Regions from separate parts of the Homo sapiens genome. Here all the other regions are linked to region 1. The links are contacts of gene promoters, found by promoter capture Hi-C in human tissues and cell types (Jung and others, 2019). All regions are on one chromosome and are shown on one strand. Each heading gives the region's core, a stretch centred on a gene start or on the middle of the fragment in contact. The rest is flanking DNA. Distances are from core to core; before and after follow the strand shown. Region 1 holds the start of CLDN5 (claudin 5). Region 2 overlaps DGCR2 (DiGeorge syndrome critical region gene 2). Region 3 overlaps DGCR2 (DiGeorge syndrome critical region gene 2). Region 4 holds the start of LOC124905081 (endogenous retrovirus group K member 24 Gag polyprotein-like). Region 5 holds the start of GSC2 (goosecoid homeobox 2). Region 6 overlaps CLTCL1 (clathrin heavy chain like 1). Region 7 overlaps CLTCL1 (clathrin heavy chain like 1).

Region 1 (2,584 bases), core at 25-2,524:
AGTTCAAACTTTACTGGAAACAAAGGGGCCGAGAGAGACTGGGGAAAGAACTACTAGAAAGGGGCTGGTGCCCCCATGGGGCTGTGGGTTTTGGAGCCGCGTGCCCCCACCTGAGCCTCAGGGGGCCCGGAGTGTCCACACCAGTGGACCTTTCGAGAAATGGCTGGGCCATTGTGCAGAAGAATGCCCGGAAATCCCGCGCCTCCCTCCTCCAGCAAGGATGGGGGCTCTTCCTCCTGGCCAGGAAACTCCAAGTTGGCTTCCGGAGGGTGGCCTGGGGGCTGGGGTGCCAGGGACACCATCGCCACTGGTGGGAGGGCAGGGCACAGCCCCTCCGTGTCCCTTTGTCTCTCCTGTCTGAAGGCCAGAGCAGGCTGCTAGGCCTGGGGCCACCACTGCCCCTGGGTGCTACACCCAGTGTGCTGGGTCACTGGGAACTTCCTGAAGTGGTGTCACCTGAACTGGGCCCCCAAGGATGGGGTGCGGGCAGTACCGCAGGAAGAGGAGCAGCCCCTGTGAAGATTGAGAGGTCTGGGAAGCCCCTGCGGCTTGGGAGAGTGGGGGTCGCCAGGCAGGGGGAAAGCCCCTGTGCCACCGCTTTTTGCCAGAGACTCAGGCTCCAGAGAGGCAGTGAGTGGCATGGGGGGTGAGGCTGGGGCCCTGGGCCTGACCTCCACACGCCTGCCTGGCCTCTCTGTTTGCCATGGGATGAGAGAGACAGTGCTGGGACTCAGAGCGGGGCTGGAGAGTGAGAGTGCGAGAAAGGGCCTGGGTGGGGCTTGGACCCCGGGGCGGGCTTTCTGGAGAGCCCCCCTACGAGGGCCTCTACGGCGGTGACGGGGTGGGGGGCTTCTGCAAACCTTGGTCAGGGAAGTGGAGCTGGCTCGAGTGGAAGAGACCACCCGGCTCAGTCGGGGATGTGGGAGTGGACTGGGTGGTGCAGACTGGGGGTCGAGCGCCTTCTGAAGTGACGGGGCCGGGACGCGCAGGGAGGCGGCCCAAGAAGCGCGCCCTAGGCCAGCCCAGAATGCGCTCGGCCGCGACTAGGACAACGGCGGGTGGGGCTGGGGGCGGCTGCCGGGCGGGGAGCGGTCCCGCGCCCTCAGCTACCCCTCAAGAGCCGTTGTTTCCCTAACTTCAGCTGCCAGAGGCTCTGTGATTGGCTGCGGCACGATGACCCGCGCACGGATTGGCTGCTTCGGGCCGGGGGGCCGGGCCCGGGGGACAGAATCCGCCCCCGAACCTTCAAAGAGGGTACCCCCCGGCAGGAGCTGGCAGACCCAGGAGGTGCGACAGACCCGCGGGGCAAACGGACTGGGGCCAAGAGCCGGGAGCGCGGGCGCAAAGGCACCAGGGCCCGCCCAGGGCGCCGCGCAGCACGGCCTTGGGGGTTCTGCGGGCCTTCGGGTGCGCGTCTCGCCTCTAGCCATGGGGTCCGCAGCGTTGGAGATCCTGGGCCTGGTGCTGTGCCTGGTGGGCTGGGGGGGTCTGATCCTGGCGTGCGGGCTGCCCATGTGGCAGGTGACCGCCTTCCTGGACCACAACATCGTGACGGCGCAGACCACCTGGAAGGGGCTGTGGATGTCGTGCGTGGTGCAGAGCACCGGGCACATGCAGTGCAAAGTGTACGACTCGGTGCTGGCTCTGAGCACCGAGGTGCAGGCGGCGCGGGCGCTCACCGTGAGCGCCGTGCTGCTGGCGTTCGTTGCGCTCTTCGTGACCCTGGCGGGCGCGCAGTGCACCACCTGCGTGGCCCCGGGCCCGGCCAAGGCGCGTGTGGCCCTCACGGGAGGCGTGCTCTACCTGTTTTGCGGGCTGCTGGCGCTCGTGCCACTCTGCTGGTTCGCCAACATTGTCGTCCGCGAGTTTTACGACCCGTCTGTGCCCGTGTCGCAGAAGTACGAGCTGGGCGCAGCGCTGTACATCGGCTGGGCGGCCACCGCGCTGCTCATGGTAGGCGGCTGCCTCTTGTGCTGCGGCGCCTGGGTCTGCACCGGCCGTCCCGACCTCAGCTTCCCCGTGAAGTACTCAGCGCCGCGGCGGCCCACGGCCACCGGCGACTACGACAAGAAGAACTACGTCTGAGGGCGCTGGGCACGGCCGGGCCCCTCCTGCCAGCCACGCCTGCGAGGCGTTGGATAAGCCTGGGGAGCCCCGCATGGACCGCGGCTTCCGCCGGGTAGCGCGGCGCGCAGGCTCCTCGGAACGTCCGGCTCTGCGCCCCGACGCGGCTCCTGGATCCGCTCCTGCCTGCGCCCGCAGCTGACCTTCTCCTGCCACTAGCCCGGCCCTGCCCTTAACAGACGGAATGAAGTTTCCTTTTCTGTGCGCGGCGCTGTTTCCATAGGCAGAGCGGGTGTCAGACTGAGGATTTCGCTTCCCCTCCAAGACGCTGGGGGTCTTGGCTGCTGCCTTACTTCCCAGAGGCTCCTGCTGACTTCGGAGGGGCGGATGCAGAGCCCAGGGCCCCCACCGGAAGATGTGTACAGCTGGTCTTTACTCCATCGGCAGGGCCCGAGCCCAGGGACCAGTGACTTGGCCTGGACCTCCCGGTCTCACTCCAGCATCTCCCCAGGCAAGGCTT
Region 2 (2,584 bases), core at 58-2,557, 450 kb after region 1:
TTCGCCAGAGTCTGAACAAAGCACACCAGACCAGAAGGGCCACAGCAAAGTGGCCTGAGGCAGCCAGCTCTGCTGTATGTCATATCGTGGTTAAATGTGGGGGCTTGAGCCAGGGACTGGGGCTGCTCCCCTGCTTTCACCACTTACTGGCTGTGATCCTTTGGGCAAATTGCATCCATAAAATGGAGAAAATAATAGTGCCTGTCACTTGGGGTTGTTGTGAGGATTACATTACATGCTACATATAAAGGGATTAGACAAGAATGTAGCACACAGTAATCCCTCAATTAGCAGTTACTTTATTCATGTAATAAAACTTAAAAAAATGTATTCTGACATTGGTAAAATGGCAGTCCAGGAAGCTCCAGGTTCTCGTTCCACCATAGAAAACATTAATAAGCAACTAGGGACTAGATGGAATAACTTTATAGAAGCTCTGGAAAACAGTCAGAGGTTTCTTAGCCCAGCTAAGAAAATGCCTAATCAAGAAAAAGCCACATTCAAAATACAGATTGAGTATCCCTTAACTGAAATGTTTGGGACCAGAAGTGTTTTGGATTTTGGATTTTTTTCTGATTTTGGAATATTTACATTATACTTACCAGTTGAACACTCCAGTGAGCATTTCCTTTGAGTACAACGTTGGCACTCAAGAGTTTTGGATTTTGGGCTGGGCTCATATCTGTCATCTCAGTGCTTTGGGAGTTCAAGGTGGGAGGATTACTTGATGCCAGGATTATAAGAGAATACTGTTAAGAATTGTACATTAACAAATTGCTTAACCTAAATGAAGCGGACACATTCCTAGAAACATACAACCTGCCAAGACTGAATCATGAGGAAATAGAAAATCTGAATAGGACTATAATTAATAAGGAGATTGAATCAGTAATCAAAAACCTCTCAACAAAGAAAAGTCCTGAACCACATGGCTTCACTGATGAATTCTCCAAACGTTTAAAGAAGAATTAACATCAGTCCTTCTCAAGTGAATTCATTCTGTGACTCTAACATGCCCTGATACCAAAGCCAGACAGTAATACTACTAGAAAATTACAGACCAATATCCTTTGTGAATATTGATACAAAATCCTCAACAAAATACTAGCAAAACCAAGTTAACCAAGTTTAGCAGTCTGTCAAAAGGCTTGGACCAAATGTAATGCAAGGATGTCTCAGCAAACTAAAATCAGTCAGTGGTCAAAGACTGAAAGCTTTTCCTCTAAGATCAGAGACAAGACAAGGATGTCTGCTTTCACCACTTATTCACCATAGTATTGAAGTTAATTGCCCACAGTAATTAATCAAGAAGAGAAAGCCATCAAAATTGGAAAGGGAGAAGTAAAGTTATCCCTGTTTGTATGTGTGACGACATGATTTTATATATAAAAACCTTAAAGATTTCACAGAAACATGGTTAGAACTAATAAATGAATTCAGCAAAATTGCAGGGCACAAAGTCAAAACACAAAATCAGTTGTATTTATATTTATGTACACTAACTCAGCTATCTGAAGAGGAAATTAAGAAAATAATTCCATTTACAGTAATAGTACAAAGAATAAAATACAGATATTCCTCAACTTATAACAGATTTATGTCTTAAACCTATTGTAAAGTCGAAAAATTTTTTAGTCAAACTATCATAAGTTGGGGGTCTGTCTGTACTAAAGAATATTCTTAAGTACACATGAAAGACTGAAAACACTGACAACTACAAAATGTTAAAAGAAATTAAAGAAGACACTGGGTGTGGTAGCTCACACCTGTAATCCCAGCATTTTGGGAGGCCAAGGCGGGTGGATCACTTGAGGTCAGGAGTTCAGGACCAGCCTGGCCAACATGGCAAAACCTTGTCTTGGTGAAAAATACAAAACTTAGCTGGGTGTGGTGAGGTGCACCTGTAGTCCCAGCTACTCAGGAGGCTGAGGCAGGAGAATTGCTTGAACCCAGAACGTGAAGATTGCAGTAAGCTGAGATCGCACCACTGCACTCCAGCCTGGGTGACAGAGTGAGACACTGTCTCAAAAAAAAAAAAAAGACAAAAATAAATTGAGAGATGTTCCATGCTCATGGACTGTAAAACGTAAGATGTGACTATTACCTAAAGCAATCTACAGATTCAATCCCTATTAAAATGCCAACAAGTTTTTTTTGCTGAAGTAGAAAAATTTATCCTAATGTTCATAGAATCTCAGCAGACTCCAAAGAGCCAGAACAGTCTTGAAAAAGAAGAAGAAATATGAAATCCTCATAATTCCTGACTTTAAACCTTATTACAAAGCTGCAGTAATCCAAACATTGTAGTATTGGTATAAAGACAGACATATAGACCAATGGAATAGAATACAGAGCCTTAGCAATAAGTCCTTGCATACAGTGGTCAAATTATTTTCCACAAGGATGCCATTACCATTCAGTGAGGGAAAAAGTGTCTTTTCAGAATGAATGGTGCTAGGAAAACTGGACATACAAATCAAAAGAATAAAGTTAGACCCTTAGCTAATGATATACAAAACTTAACCCAAAATGGATCAGGCTTAAATTTAAGACCTTAAACTATAAAATTCTTAGAAAAACATAA
Region 3 (2,584 bases), core at 50-2,549, 420 kb after region 1:
GCTACTGTGCTCAGTGTGGTCTGTGTATCTTTACTAAGCTTTTGATCAAAGACTTTTTTAATTTTAAAGAAGTCTGATTTATCATTTTTTCTTGTTATGGTCATGCTTTCTGTTTTTGTCTAATAAATCCTTGCCTACCCCAAGGTTACGAAGTTCTTCTCCTTCCCTAGTAAAATCTGAGCTTCGTGGGGGCAGACACCTTATGGTTCTCCTCCTGCTCTTCTCACTTGTGTCCTGTACAACACCTGGCCCCTAGGAGGTACACGGCGGTGTTCATGGAAGGAGCAAATGAGTTGTCTTAAGGATTCATAATAATGTATTCTAAGCACTTGATATACTGCCTGGCACATGCAAAATGAGCATTCAGGAATCTGATTTGACTACAGCTGTTCTTTCTCTTAGAGAAATTGGCTGCGCTATCCTGTGGCTATGATCGAAATGTGGTGCGAGTGTTGGATGAAACTGCTGGCTGATGTTTACATCAGATGCGAGATAGCTCTCGCTCCAGTTCTGTCCCACCCTCCTGCCCTGGTCTTATTCCCAAGTATGTAGCCCCTCCTGCCCGAACCCCCATGAAATAAGGACTGATTGCAAGTTGCTGTTCTTTTCTTGAAAGTGTCACTCATGGAATAGGTATGCTTGGTGGACCTGCCTTTCTCTTCTTTCATCTTATATGATCCCTTCCTTTTTCTTAGGACCTTCCCTTCTTTTCTAGGATAACTTATTTTAAACAGGGCCTTCTTTCCCAAACATCTGCCTAAGGAGAAGCCACAGGGCAGAGCAGCTGAGCCAGTGTTTTGGTTGGACAGCATCTACAGATAGATGGTAGCAGGTGGTGATCACTTCTTCTCCTGGAGGTAGAAAATGCTTGTTATTTATGAGAAATAAATGCTGAAGCATAGGCCTTGTCCCTTTGTTCTTGTGTGGTGTTCCCCAGTGTCAGTGTTGTGACCCCTTGGGCTGTGGGAGAAAGTGGCTGGCACTCCCCTAGCGCTTGGCAACCCTACTCCCTCTCCACTGTTGCAGGAGAGCTGGCCACCTGTCTCCAGTGGTGGTGATGGGGAGTCAGGAGCTCCAGGGTCCAGGGGAGGAGTGACTGAGGGTGGAGCCTTCACTCAGAGATTCCACTTGCCCCGGGGGCTGTTTGGAAATGGGTTTGGTGGTTATGTGTTTGGGGAGCTACTGCCATTTAGGGAGCCATATCAAAGAAGTTGCAGGCATATTTCAAAACCACAGCAGGAGTGTTTGCAGGTGTAAAATATTTTGTTCTAGTAACTGGCCACTGGTAGGGAAAAAAAGTACAATATGTTGGTACATCCTTGGCTCTGCACCAGACTGGTGGTGGGGCTCTGGTATCCCTGGGCTTTGTGCAGTGAGCCCCCAGAGGCTCTGCTGACTGCTGTCTCGGTGAAGGAAATGGCTCAGAACTGGAAAGTTTGGACCTGGTCCTCTAGGGAGTCAGAATGCAGAGCCCCACCCAGGGGCTCTGCTGGCTTCAGGGATGGGGATTTGGGTCAAAGAGCCCACAGCCTGACCTCTGATGCCCATTCTGCTGCTGCCAACTTGATGTGGGACACTGAGTAGGCGGGTCAGCCCCTCTGAGAAGCTAGCTGGCTGGACTAGTTGGGGGTTTCAATACATAGAACAGCTTCGGGCCTTCCTTCACATTTTGCTAATGAAACTTCCAATCTCATCATTTTCCATGAGCCACACATGTCTTGTTCCCGTTTGAACTCTGGGCCCTCATGGGTGAGGAGCCGGCTGGCCTCTGGGCTCCTTGTGGCTTGAGGTTCAGATGCTGGCATCGTTGGTGCTGTAGCCTGGTGGCTGCCAGTACAGAGGATGCTCAGGCCTCCAGGTATCAGCAGTCTTCACTGCCCCCTGCTGCTGAGACGCAGTGGCAGGTCAAACTGCACAGAACCCCTGGCCATGGTTCCTGCCTCCCATCCTCTCTTTGCCCTTGTGGGTCCCTCTCAGAGCATTTATCTCTGCAGAGGACCTCCCAGGATTGTTCCTAAGGGTGGCATATGTGAAACTTCAGCAGCTGAGCATTGTTGGAGTAATTTTCTCTTTTGGGCCTCATCACCTCCGTGGAAGTCAGGAGGGATAGGCAGGGCAGGATGGTCACCTCCATGCTTTACAGATGGAGGAAGCAGCCTGGCGAGGCTGAGCAGGGTTGCACGGGCCAGGAGCTGAAGCCTGCTGTTTGTCTCGCAACGGATCTCTGGGGCGTCTTTCCAAGCCAGTCTCCCTGCGTGGTTCCAGGAAGCTACAGGGGTGGGGAGGTTGTGTGCTGGCCTGCTGGTGCTACGGGGCAGTGGCAGCGATGGGGAAGGGGCTAGACGGGCTTCAGGGGAGAGCTGCAGGGACTGGTGAGCCGGGACCCCCAAGAACCTGGATGTGGGGCTTTGCGGGAAGGTTAGAGGTGGCCCTTGGACTCCATAAAAGGGCAGATGGCATTTGAGCACTGTAGAGAAGGCAGGGAGTTTGTGATGTGATCACAGTTGGTTCTGGGATGGTCTGTGCACTGTTTGGAATGCCAGGTCCTGCCTTTCCTCACTTCCTAGCTCTGCCCTCCCAGGTC
Region 4 (2,584 bases), core at 63-2,562, 410 kb before region 1:
ATTGTTCAAACACACGTTTTACAATCAATTTCTACAGTTAACACAATTATCACAGTGGTCCTGAGGTGATGTATATTATCAGCTTATGAAGATAACAGGATTAAGAGATAAAGACAGGCATAAGAAATTATAAAAGTATTACTTGGGGGCCCAGGCGCGGTGGCTCATGCCTGTAATCCTAGCACTTTGAGAGGCCGAGGCAGCCATATCACAAGGTGAGGAGATCAAGACCATCCTGGCTAACATGGTGAAACCCTGTCTCTCCTGAAAGTACAAAAAATTAGCCAGGTGTGGTGGCGGGTGCCTGTAGTCCCAGCTACTCAGGAGGCTGAGACAGGAGAATGGTGTGAACCCAGGAGGCGGAGCTTGCAGTGAGCTGAGATTGTGCCACTGCACCCCAGCCTGGGCGACAGAGAGAGAATCTGCCTCAAAAAAAAAAAAAAGAAAAAAGTATAAAAGTATTACTTGGGAATTGATAAATGTTCATATTGAAATGAAATCTTCACTATTTATGTTCCTCTGCCACGGCTCCAGCCAGTCCCTCCATTCGGGGTTCCTGACTTCCTGCAACACAGGTGTGAGCCACTGTACCCAGACTAGGGGTGCAGTTTTTTTTTTTTTTTTTTTCTGAGACAGAGTCTCACTCTGTTAACCAGGCTGGAGTGCAGTGGTGCTATCATAGCTCACTGCAGCCTTGAACTCCTGGGTTCAACTCACCCTCCAGCCTCAGCCTCCCTAGTAGCTGGGACTGTGGGCCCTGCAGTTTCTCCTTTTAGAGTAGGAAGACCTGAACTGTCCCAGGCTTGGAGTGGGTGGGCGATGCAGCCCCTGAACAGGAGCCAGAATGACAACACCTGCTGCCAGGAAAGAGCTCTAGATAGAGCAGCCATACAGGAGGGCCCCTGAGGTGGCACCCTGAGGTGGCCAGCCTGCCTGTGGGTGCACATTTTGGGGGACCCTTCCACTTGCCCTCACTGGTGCAGTGCTGCATTCTCTTGGGCCTTGCTATGAGCTCTGGGCTCCTGCTCTTTGCTGGCCTGTACCAGGCAGTGGGTTCAAAGAGGAGCAGAAAATTAATGGACAATATGTCAGAAGGCAGAGGCAAGACAGACACTTGCTGGGGCCAAGCCCTGCAGGTGGAGAGGGTATGCCTGGCTAAAGTGGGTGAAAGGCAAGGTTATGAGGTTCTCCAGGACACTGGAGTGCACAGGTGGTGTGTCCCCAGGTAACGCCTGCCACCCAGCCCTTCCTCCCACAGAACAGCATCTGCCCTACCCACCTTTGAGGTACTTTGGGGTCCTTCCTTCCCAGCAGGCTACCCAAGCCCTTCCAAGTGCTTAAAGGCAGATTTCCTATGCTTGCAAACGACTGCCCTATGCCAGTGTTTATCAGCCCGAGAGGGCTCCTGGGTGTGCACAGGGGGCGAGCAAGCTGCCCAAGATAAGCACATCCATACAGACAGCTGCTCACCCTGCCTGATAGCAGACAGAGGGGGCACAGTGCGAGGCTGCAGGGCAGGATGACCTAACAAGGGCCCTGCTATGGCAACAAGAAGGACAGGCACCTGCCATGGAAGGTAGGGACGTTCTGAGCAAAGCTTCCGGCTACCAGGCAGCTGGAGGAGAGAGATGCTTCTCCATCAGCAGGTTCATGCTCCCCGGGGGACCTGGTGGCATTTTCTCCCTGACCAGCAGTCCTTGGTTCTCTAGACTTATATTAAAGCCATTAGAATAATTTACAACAATTTAGGCCTTTCCAGAGCCCTTGAGTTGAATTAGGAATTGAGTGTGCTTTGGACTGGCTGTTGGAACCGAGTTGTGGCTCTGTCAGTTCCCGCAGGTGCGCACACATCTCACGTGCACTCAGAGGCTGGCTGCCAGGTGAAAGAGTGGGTGGGTTTGGTTGTGGGGCAGGCTCGCTGCAGGCCATGGCCTGAGTGCCTGGATGCAGCTTCCCAAGCTTTCTCAGCTGTGAGCCAGGGCTCCTCTAGGCTCCAGCTCTTGTATCCTTTAGGAGTGCATGTTCTAGACCTGTCTGTGGGGCATCTGCAGGGCCAGGGTGTGGAGAGACATGACACTCCAAGTACACTCTCTGCAGCCTTGCCTGCCTAGGAAGGTGGAGGTGGCTGCAAAGATAAGTGCAGCCTTCTCATGGCAGACGCTAGGCTCTGATGGAGGTGTTGGGCAGGTTGCCCAGCCTTGTATGACAGACCCTGCTCTGATCATGGAACCTCTTGGCCTTGTCTGAAGCAGCGACCGGCTCCAGATGCTCTGGGAGGGTGGTGCTTCTCATCTGGGCAGGCTCGTGTCTGCAGAGGGGCTGAGGGCACTACTTGTTTTATACCCTAGAGTCTTGTCATCAGTCCCCACCCTGCCCTCACCCCAGCAGACTGATGACTTGCTATTATTTCTTCCTTCCTTCAGCAGGGAGTTGGCTGGTGCCTGGTGCTGGGTGTCCCGGACCTCAGGCCCAGTTCAGTGTACTTCCCCTCTCTACTTCCTCCCTCCAGTCCCTTCTCCATCCCTCCCTTTTTTGGCTGCCCCTTGCCTGCCTTCCTCGCCAGTAGCTTGCAGAGTAGACACGA
Region 5 (2,584 bases), core at 64-2,563, 370 kb after region 1:
CTACCCCTGGGAAACCTATGTGGGAGCTCTTGTGACAGAAATTAAATCAGCAGGTTCGGTCACAGTGATGTCCACAGCACTTTCACTGATAGCAGAGTGGGGATGGCAGAGTCTTGCAGAGGGGCTGGCGGCGGGAGGAGCGCAGGAATACGCATTGCCCTGGGGAGGCGGCCAGGTTCTAACCGTCTCACACCTAGTCACTACACTTTACAGATTGGGAAAGCCAAGCCCAGAGGCTGAAGACGCCTATGGAGGTCACACGGCCAGAAATTGACAACGGAGTATGAGCCAGGCCGTCTGTTTCTCTGTGCTATGAGTCCCATACTGTATTTTCAAAGGTCAAGAGGAAAGGGTCTTAAGCTGAAGTGACGGTCCCGCTGCCAGGAGCCGCTTCACTGAGGGTGAAACAATGTAGCCAAGTGCGGGTCACCTGCGCTGTGGCAGAAGGGACCGAGGACGGTGTGGCCAGAGGACTGGCCTGGGCGGAGAGCGAGGAGGGGGAGCCCACAGCTTCTGGGGGGCAGTGACAGTGCGGGGAAGGGCGAGGTGCAGTGTTGGATGTTTTCGCGGGGATTCTGGGACCAGTGGGAAAGCTGGAGGACAGGCGGCTCTGAAGCACCGAGGAGGGGCCTCGGAAGGGGCGGGGAGGTCTCCTTGACACAGGTGAGGAGACGGAGAACTGGGGGCACCCGGCAGCCCAGGCTTCCTGCCGCGCTCTCACGCCCTCCAGGGCCATGAGACCCTGGCTCCGAGGTGGCGGGCAGGTTCGGGACCCGAGCGCGGCGGGATCGTGCGGTTGCCGGTGGTGCTGGGCCCCATGGAGGCTGCGGTCCAGGAGTTTCGGGTGGGCGGCTAGGCCGAGCTTCTGCAGGCGTGCTGAGCCGCCGCAGTAGGGCCCCAGAGGGGACGAGGAATTAGGCCCAGCCGAACGAGGGGGAGCCACCAGAGGCTGGGCCGGGAGGCACCGCCGCGCTCTGGGGAGCTGCCAGGGTCGGGGCGCCCTCCGAGCGGCTGCCAGGCCCCGCGGGCGGCGGCGAGGCGGCCCTCCGCCCCTTCCCCGCAGGTCGCCCTGCCAGCTTGAGCGGCGGGCGCGGGTGGGGCAGGAGGACGCGGGGCGGGGTGGGGGGCACAGGGGGCCCTCTCTGCAGCGCCCCCGGCCCCCGCGCGCGGAGGCAGGGCCGCCGCAGTCGAGGATTAGCGCGTTCGCGGCCGGCGCTGCGGGATTAACCCGCGTGGACTGGACGCCCGGCCCGGGGATTACTGCGCGCTCCCTCCCCGACGTATATATTCCCGCGGCGGCGGCGCCCCGGCCGGGCCGGGCATGGCGGCAGCGGCTGGGGGCGCGGCGAGCCGCCGGGGTGCCGGGCGGCCCTGCCCCTTCTCCATCGAGCACATCCTCTCCAGCCTGCCCGAGCGGAGCCTCCCGGCCCGGGCCGCCTGCCCACCGCAGCCCGCCGGTCGCCAGAGCCCCGCGAAGCCAGAGGAGCCCGGGGCGCCCGAGGCTGCGCCCTGCGCCTGCTGCTGCTGCTGCGGCCCCCGCGCGGCGCCCTGCGGGCCCCCAGAGGCGGCCGCCGGGCTGGGTGAGTGGGCGCGGAGCGGGGCGCGGGGCCCGGCGGAGCCCGGGGCGCGGCGCAGTGGGTGCCGAGCTTGGCCCCAGCCCCGCGCCTCACCGCGCCCTCGCTCCGCAGGCGCTCGTCTGGCGTGGCCGCTGAGGCTGGGACCGGCGGTGCCCTTGTCTCTGGGTGCGCCAGCCGGAGGTTCCGGGGCGCTCCCGGGCGCGGTCGGCCCGGGTTCGCAGCGGCGCACGAGGCGCCACCGCACCATCTTCAGCGAAGAGCAGCTGCAGGCGCTCGAGGCGCTTTTCGTGCAGAACCAGTATCCTGACGTGAGTACGCGCGAGCGCCTGGCCGGCCGCATCCGCCTTCGCGAGGAGCGCGTGGAGGTGAGTGCCCCGCCCAGCCTTTCCCCGGAGCGCGCGGGCCGCGGCTACACTGGACTGGGGTCCTGGCGGGCGGGCGCCCTTTGCAAAGACGGCCTCGGCCCAAGCCCCGCCCTGGCGCGCCGGAGGGAGGAGGTCCCTGGACGGCGCTGGGCGTCCGGGGGTATGAGGAGCGGGTGAGAGCAGGGAGGTGCCGCGGGAAAGGAACCGGAGGGCTACTTTTCTTTTCTTTTGTTTTACACTTTCCTCTGGTGACGAAAGAGGCCCGCGTTCACGTCCAGAATTTGGGAAATTCAGAAGAGCCCGCAACCCAAGAAGGGGCGTCCTGGTCGCCGCCAGCTGGAGGCTGGGGCGGGTACTAAGGGGGTTCCCATCTCGCGTCCAGACCCACCGAGTCTGTCCGCAGCGAATAAGGGCAGGTGGCGCGCAGCCGCGGCCCGGGTGTCGGCTCTACAGCGCCGTCCGCCCACATCCCTGTTGCGAAGCTCCCCTCTCGGTCCCTGTGGGACCCTCGGGAGCCGGTGGGACGCAGGACCTGGGGCTAGGGCTGAGCATTCCCCCCATCCCCAGGTCTGGTTCAAGAACCGCCGGGCCAAATGGCGACACCAGAAGCGCGCGTCGGCTTCCGCGAGGCTCCTGCCCGGC
Region 6 (2,584 bases), core at 22-2,521, 330 kb after region 1:
CTGAGGGTGGGCGCGAGTGGCACGTGTGCTGCCAGGTGAGGCCTTCAGCCTCTGCCTTTCCTGGGAACTATTTGAAGGAACCCAGTATTGAGCACCAGGCCACAAGCCCGAGCTTCTTGTTGGAGGACATCCATGTTACTGGGCATGGTGGTACGTGAAAGTGGGGGCCTTTGATGGGGCGTCCCACCCTGAGCAGAGTCTGCAGGTTGCTGGAGGGAGTGCGGCCAGGTCATACCTTACTGTGGCCTGGCACACGTGGCTGCTGCCTTGTAGATTTGTCTGTGTGCTGGAAAATCCATACTTGATCAATCCTGTGTGTATTTTATTCACATTGTAACTCCTCTGATATTAGGGTGTTTTTAAAAATTGCTGAGCCGTGGTGGAAGTGGCCATGCTTTTGTTTCTTACTGGCATATAAAATAATAGCAGGACAGCTGAGACTCACTGTGTGGGAGAGCAGCATCTCTCATCTGGTGCCTGCAGGGCTGATGGCTGAGTCCAGTTCCTTGTGTGATTCATGATGCTTCTACTACACCCTGCCGTGTGGGAGACAGACACTGTCAGCTCAGGTGTGAAGGGGGTAGGAGGATACTCGCCAGTGCAGGGGTCCAATCAGATGGACGACATCCAATCTGTATTTGGGGCACACGATAGCAGGAATCCACTTAGCCATAGGGCTGGGCCAGCAGCAGCCTGAGCAGGGGAGCTTGCTAACTCACACGGGGGGCACCCCAGCTCAGCCATTCACTGTCTCTCTCCATGTGGGCTAGGGGTGTCACCGCTGTGAACCTCGTTATCCCATCCATACAATGGACATCATGTTTCCTCCCGACCAAGTGGTCCATGGCAGGTGCCTGGCATCCGGTGGGCGCTTCTTTCAGGTTGTGCAGCACAGCACGCCAACCAGCTATCCTGGAGCTTGTGGCGGAATCTCAGCTTCAGTTTTCTCTTCTTTTTTTGTTTTATTATTATTTTTCTTGAAACGGAGTCTCACTCTGTCACTCAGGCTGGAGTGCAGTGGCGCGATCTTGGCTCACTGCAACCTCCGCCTCCCAGCCTCGAGCGATTCTCCTGCCTCAGCCTCCAGAGTAGCTGGGATTACAGGTGCCTGCCACCACGCCCGGCTCATTTTTGTATTTTTAATAGATACAGGGTTTTACCATGTTGGGCAGGCTGTTCTCAAACTCCTGACCTCAGGTGATCTTGAGAGGTGACGCCACCTGGACTTCTTGGGTCGGGTGGGGACTTGGAGAAATTTTGTGTCCAGCTAAAGGATTGTAAGTACACCAATCAGCACTCTGCATCTAGCTAAAGGATTGTAAATGCACCAATCAGCACTCTGTAAAAAACGTACCAATCAGCACTCTGTAAAATGGGCCAATCAGCACTCTGTAGAATGGACCAATTAGCGCTCTGTAAAATGGGCCAATCAGCAGGATGTGGGTGGGGCCAAATAAGGGAATAAAAGCTGGCCATGCGAGCCAGCAGTGCAACCTGTTCGGGTCTTTTTCCATGTTGTGGGAGCTTTGTTCTTTTGCTTTTCACAATCAGTCTTGCTGCTGCTCACTCATTGAGTCTGCACTAGGTTTAAAAGCTGTAACACTCACTGCGAAGGTCTGGAGCTTCATTTGTGAAGTCAGCCAGATCACGAACCCACCAGAAGGAAGAAACTCACACCTCTCAACATCTGAAGGAACAAACTCTGGACACAACATCTTTAAGAGCTGTAACACTCACCATGAGGGTCTGTGGCTTCATTCTTGAAGTCAGTGAGACCAAGAACCCACCGGAAGGAATAAATTACAGACACAATCCGCCTGCCTTGGCCTCCCAAAGTGCTGGGATTACAGGCGTGAGCCACCACGCCCAGCCTTCAGTTTTCCCTTGTATAAAACAGGGATACTACCATGTCTTCTGGGGTGCTGGCTGTCCTTGCTGACCATGCTAGTGGGCACGGGCCTGCCAGTGCTCCATGTCCTGGCGCGTGGCTAGTGGACTCACCCCATCCTGTCTTTCAGCTTGGATCTGGAGGACGCTCCAGAGGGGCCCCGCCGCTCCATTCCTCCTGTAGTGCAGAGGGCTCCAGATCCCAGCAGCTGAGCCCAACAGAGATGTGTGTCCCTGCAGGCCTCAACACCAGAGGAACTGGGTGGGAACATGGCAGTTATACTCCACCTTAAACGGCATTCCGGCCATGCTGCATGGACCTGTTGAAAGGGCCAAGAGTGCACATGGTACCAGGTGTCCCACAAGGGAAGCTAGGACTGCTGGTGCCCCACTTCAAGTCTGTCCACTCGCGTGATACCTGCAAGAGTCTCTGAAATGGGCTTGTCCTTGGATGGTTCCTCTCCTTCACGGGAGGCCTGAGGAGCCTTGTGGTTGGTGGGGAAGCAGGTGGGGCTTTGAGGAGGTGATTCGCCACAGAAGATGAACTTGAGTCCCTACCCTTCTCTTCAGCCCCACATCACATCCTGACTGCTCTCTGCTTCTTCAGTGTCTAGTTGAGGCCCCCATGTCCTGGCCCTGCTGCTGAGTAAAGGGCCAGCCTAGAAGGCTGACAGGTGCTAGAGCTCCAATAGGAGTG
Region 7 (2,584 bases), core at 56-2,555, 280 kb after region 1:
GCCAGGCACAGTGGCTCATGCCTGTAATCCCAGCACTTTGGGAGGGAGGCTGAGGCAGGCAGATCACCCTGTGGTCAGGATTTCAAGACCAGCCTGGCCAACATGGCGAAACCCCATCTCTACTAAAAATACATCATGAATGAACCTTGGAAATATTAAGCTAAGTGAAAGATGCCAGTCACAAAAGACCACATACTATATGATTCCATTTATTTGAAATGTTCAGGATAGTCTGACCTATAGACACAGAAAATAGATAAGTAGTTGCCTATGACTGGAGGTGGAGTCTGGGAGATAGGAATGAGGATTGAATGCTAATAGGGTTTCTTTCAAAGGATGAAAGTGTTCTAAAACTATGTTGTAGTGATGATTGCACAGCCCTCTGAGTATACGAAGAAACATTGGATGGTATGCTTTAAACCAGGGGTGTCTGATCTTTTGGATCCCCTGGGCCACACTGGAAGAAGAATTGTCTTGGGTCACACATAAAATACACTAGCAATAGCTGATGAGCTAAAAACAAAAATTGCAAAAAAATTCATAATTTTTTTTTTTTGAGACCGAGTTTTGCTCTTGTTGCCCAGGCTGGAGTGCAGTGGCATGGTCTTGGCTCACCGCAACCTCCGCCTCCCGGGTTCAAGCGATTCTACTGCCTCAGCCTTCCTGAATAACTGGGACTACAGGCATGCACCACCACACCTGGCTAATTTTGTATTTTTAGTAGTGATGGGGTTTCTCCATGTTGGTCAGTCTGGTCTCGAACTCCTGACCTCAGGTGATCTGCCTGCCTCGGCCTCCCAAAGTGCTGGGATTACAGGTGTGAGCCACCATGCCCAGCCAAAAGTTCATAATGCTTTAAGAAAGTTTATGAATTTGTGTTTGGGCCACATACAAGGCTATACTGGGCCACATGTTGGACAAGCTTGCTTTAAATAGATAAGTTCTATGGTATGTGAATTATATCTCAATTAAGCTTTTAAAAATACCCTTGGGGGCCAGGCACGGTGACTCACACCTTTAATCCCAGCACTTTGGGAGGCCAAGGCAGGAGGATCACCTGAAGTCAGGAGTTCGAGACCAGCCTGGCCAATGTGGTGAAACCCCGTCTTTACTAAAAATACAAAAATTAGCCGAGAGTTGTGGCATGTGCCTGTAATCCCAGCTACTTGGGAGGCTGAGGCGGGAGAATCGCCTGAACCCAGGATGCAGAGGTTGCAGTGAGCCGAGATCACACCATTGCACTCCAGCCTGGGCAACAAGAGTGGAACTCTGCCTCAAAAACAAAACAAAACAAAACAAATGACAACAACAACAACAAAATAAAAACTCTTGGGAATTATGCCTCTTTACAAAGAAATCATCATGTTTGAAGAATATAAAACAAAAATTATAAATCATAGTTACATGTATATGCTTTACTGACAAACTAAAAAACAACAAATAAAAAAATCCCATGCATTTACCAACAACAAAACACCTCATGGGCATAAGAATAGACATGTAGACCAATGGGAAAAAATGTAAGGTCCAGGAATACACCCCTACATCTGTGGCCAATTGATTTTTGATGAGAGTGTCAAGACTGTTCAATGGTGAAACAATAGTCTCTTCAGGAATGGTGCTGGGACAACTAAATATCCACATGCAAAAGAATGGAGTTGGTCACCTGCCTCACACCATGTACAAAAATAAACTCAAAATAGATCTGAAACCTCAATGTAGAAGGTAAAACTACAAAACTCTTAGAAGAAAACATAAGGAGAAAGCTTTATGACTTTGGATTTGGCATGGATTCTTAGATATATAATAGCACCAAAAGCCTGAACAACAAAATTAAAAAATAGATAATTTGGACTTCAGAATTAAAAACTTTTGTGCATAAAAGGATATTGCCAATAAAGTGAAAAGACAACCTGGGATGTAATATTTGAAAATCATCTATCTGATAAGGGTCTAGTATCCAGATATACAAAGAACACTTACAACTCAACAACAAAAAGTCAACCCAGTTAAAAAGTGGGCAAATGACTTGCTTGACATCATTAGCCATTAGGAAAATGCAATTCAAAACCACAATGAAGTACCACTTTACACCCACTCGAATGGTTATAATTTTTACAAAGTAGAAAATAAGTGTTGGCCCTGAGGTCAGGAGTTTGAGACCAGCCTGACCAACATGGAGAAACCCCATCTCTAGTAAAAATACAAAATTAGCCGGGTGTGGTGGTGCATGCCTTTAATCCCAGCTACTCCGGAGGCTGAGGCAGGAGAATTGCTTGAACCTGGAAGGCAGAGGTTGAAGTGAGCCGAGATCGCGCCATTGCACTCCAGCCTGGGCAACAAGAGCGAAACTCCATCTCAAAAAAAAGAAAAGAAAAGAAGTGTTGGCAATGTTATGGAGAAATTGGAACCCTCCTACATTAGTGGTAGGAATATAAAAATGTTCAGATGCTGTGGAAAGCAGTTTGGTGGTTCCTCAAAAAGTTAAACATAAGGCCAGGCGTGGTGGCTCACACCTGTAATCCCAGCACTTTGGGAGGCTGAGGCAGGTGGATCACGAGGTCAGGAGATCAAGACCATCCTG

Evidence for each region. The method cuts DNA at HindIII sites, captures the fragments that hold promoters and counts their contacts. A contact is called where the count stands out against the background at its distance.
Region 2: a fragment that was not itself captured here is called in contact with the fragment with the promoter of CLDN5 in region 1 in 2 of the 25 tissues and cell types used here (dorsolateral prefrontal cortex and lymphoblastoid cells).
Region 3: a fragment that was not itself captured here is called in contact with the fragment with the promoter of CLDN5 in region 1 in 3 of the 25 tissues and cell types used here (dorsolateral prefrontal cortex, lymphoblastoid cells and pancreas).
Region 4: a contact is called between a fragment that was not itself captured here and the fragment with the promoter of CLDN5 in region 1, in 2 of the 25 tissues and cell types used here (dorsolateral prefrontal cortex and lymphoblastoid cells).
Region 5: a contact is called between the fragment with the promoter of GSC2 here and the fragment with the promoter of CLDN5 in region 1, in 5 of the 25 tissues and cell types used here (dorsolateral prefrontal cortex, lymphoblastoid cells, mesenchymal stem cells and 2 more).
Region 6: a contact is called between a fragment that was not itself captured here and the fragment with the promoter of CLDN5 in region 1, in 4 of the 25 tissues and cell types used here (lymphoblastoid cells, mesenchymal stem cells, spleen and 1 more).
Region 7: a fragment that was not itself captured here is called in contact with the fragment with the promoter of CLDN5 in region 1 in 3 of the 25 tissues and cell types used here (dorsolateral prefrontal cortex, lymphoblastoid cells and mesenchymal stem cells).

The regions. Positions count from the first base shown.
Region 1 is chr22:19,523,100-19,525,683 of GRCh38, reverse strand. It overlaps CLDN5 (claudin 5), which reads left to right and starts at 1,274. Exons shown (of 1, transcript NM_001363066.2): 1 at 1,274-2,584. The coding sequence starts at 1,429. The coding sequence ends at 2,085. The HindIII fragment of the contact is 10,668 bases long and covers 1-1,504 here.
Region 2 is chr22:19,077,289-19,079,872 of GRCh38, reverse strand. All of the region lies in intron 2 of DGCR2 (DiGeorge syndrome critical region gene 2), which reads left to right. Among named protein-coding and RNA genes, the nearest start is that of DGCR11, 30 kb to the right of the region's middle. The HindIII fragment of the contact is 4,816 bases long and covers 1-2,584 here.
Region 3 is chr22:19,105,721-19,108,304 of GRCh38, reverse strand. All of the region lies in intron 1 of DGCR2 (DiGeorge syndrome critical region gene 2), which reads left to right. Among named protein-coding and RNA genes, the nearest start is that of DGCR2, 15 kb to the left of the region's middle. RefSeq lists an enhancer at 1,671-2,171. The HindIII fragment of the contact is 7,252 bases long and covers 1-2,584 here.
Region 4 is chr22:19,932,426-19,935,009 of GRCh38, reverse strand. All of the region lies in intron 1 of TXNRD2 (thioredoxin reductase 2), which reads left to right. It overlaps LOC124905081 (endogenous retrovirus group K member 24 Gag polyprotein-like), which reads right to left and starts at 1,343. Exons shown (of 2, transcript XM_047441689.1): 1 at 1,280-1,343. The HindIII fragment of the contact is 3,352 bases long and covers 1-2,584 here.
Region 5 is chr22:19,149,021-19,151,604 of GRCh38, reverse strand. It overlaps GSC2 (goosecoid homeobox 2), which reads left to right and starts at 1,313. Exons shown (of 3, transcript NM_005315.2): 1 at 1,313-1,580; 2 at 1,689-1,942; 3 at 2,510-2,584. The coding sequence starts at 1,322. RefSeq lists an enhancer at 1,862-2,361. The HindIII fragment of the contact is 19,488 bases long and covers 1-2,584 here.
Region 6 is chr22:19,192,877-19,195,460 of GRCh38, reverse strand. The region is part of intron 26 of CLTCL1 (clathrin heavy chain like 1); the gene reads left to right. Among named protein-coding and RNA genes, the nearest start is that of SLC25A1, 15 kb to the right of the region's middle. The HindIII fragment of the contact is 7,428 bases long and covers 1-2,584 here.
Region 7 is chr22:19,246,270-19,248,853 of GRCh38, reverse strand. The region is part of intron 3 of CLTCL1 (clathrin heavy chain like 1); the gene reads left to right. Among named protein-coding and RNA genes, the nearest start is that of CLTCL1, 44 kb to the left of the region's middle. The HindIII fragment of the contact is 4,231 bases long and covers 1-2,584 here.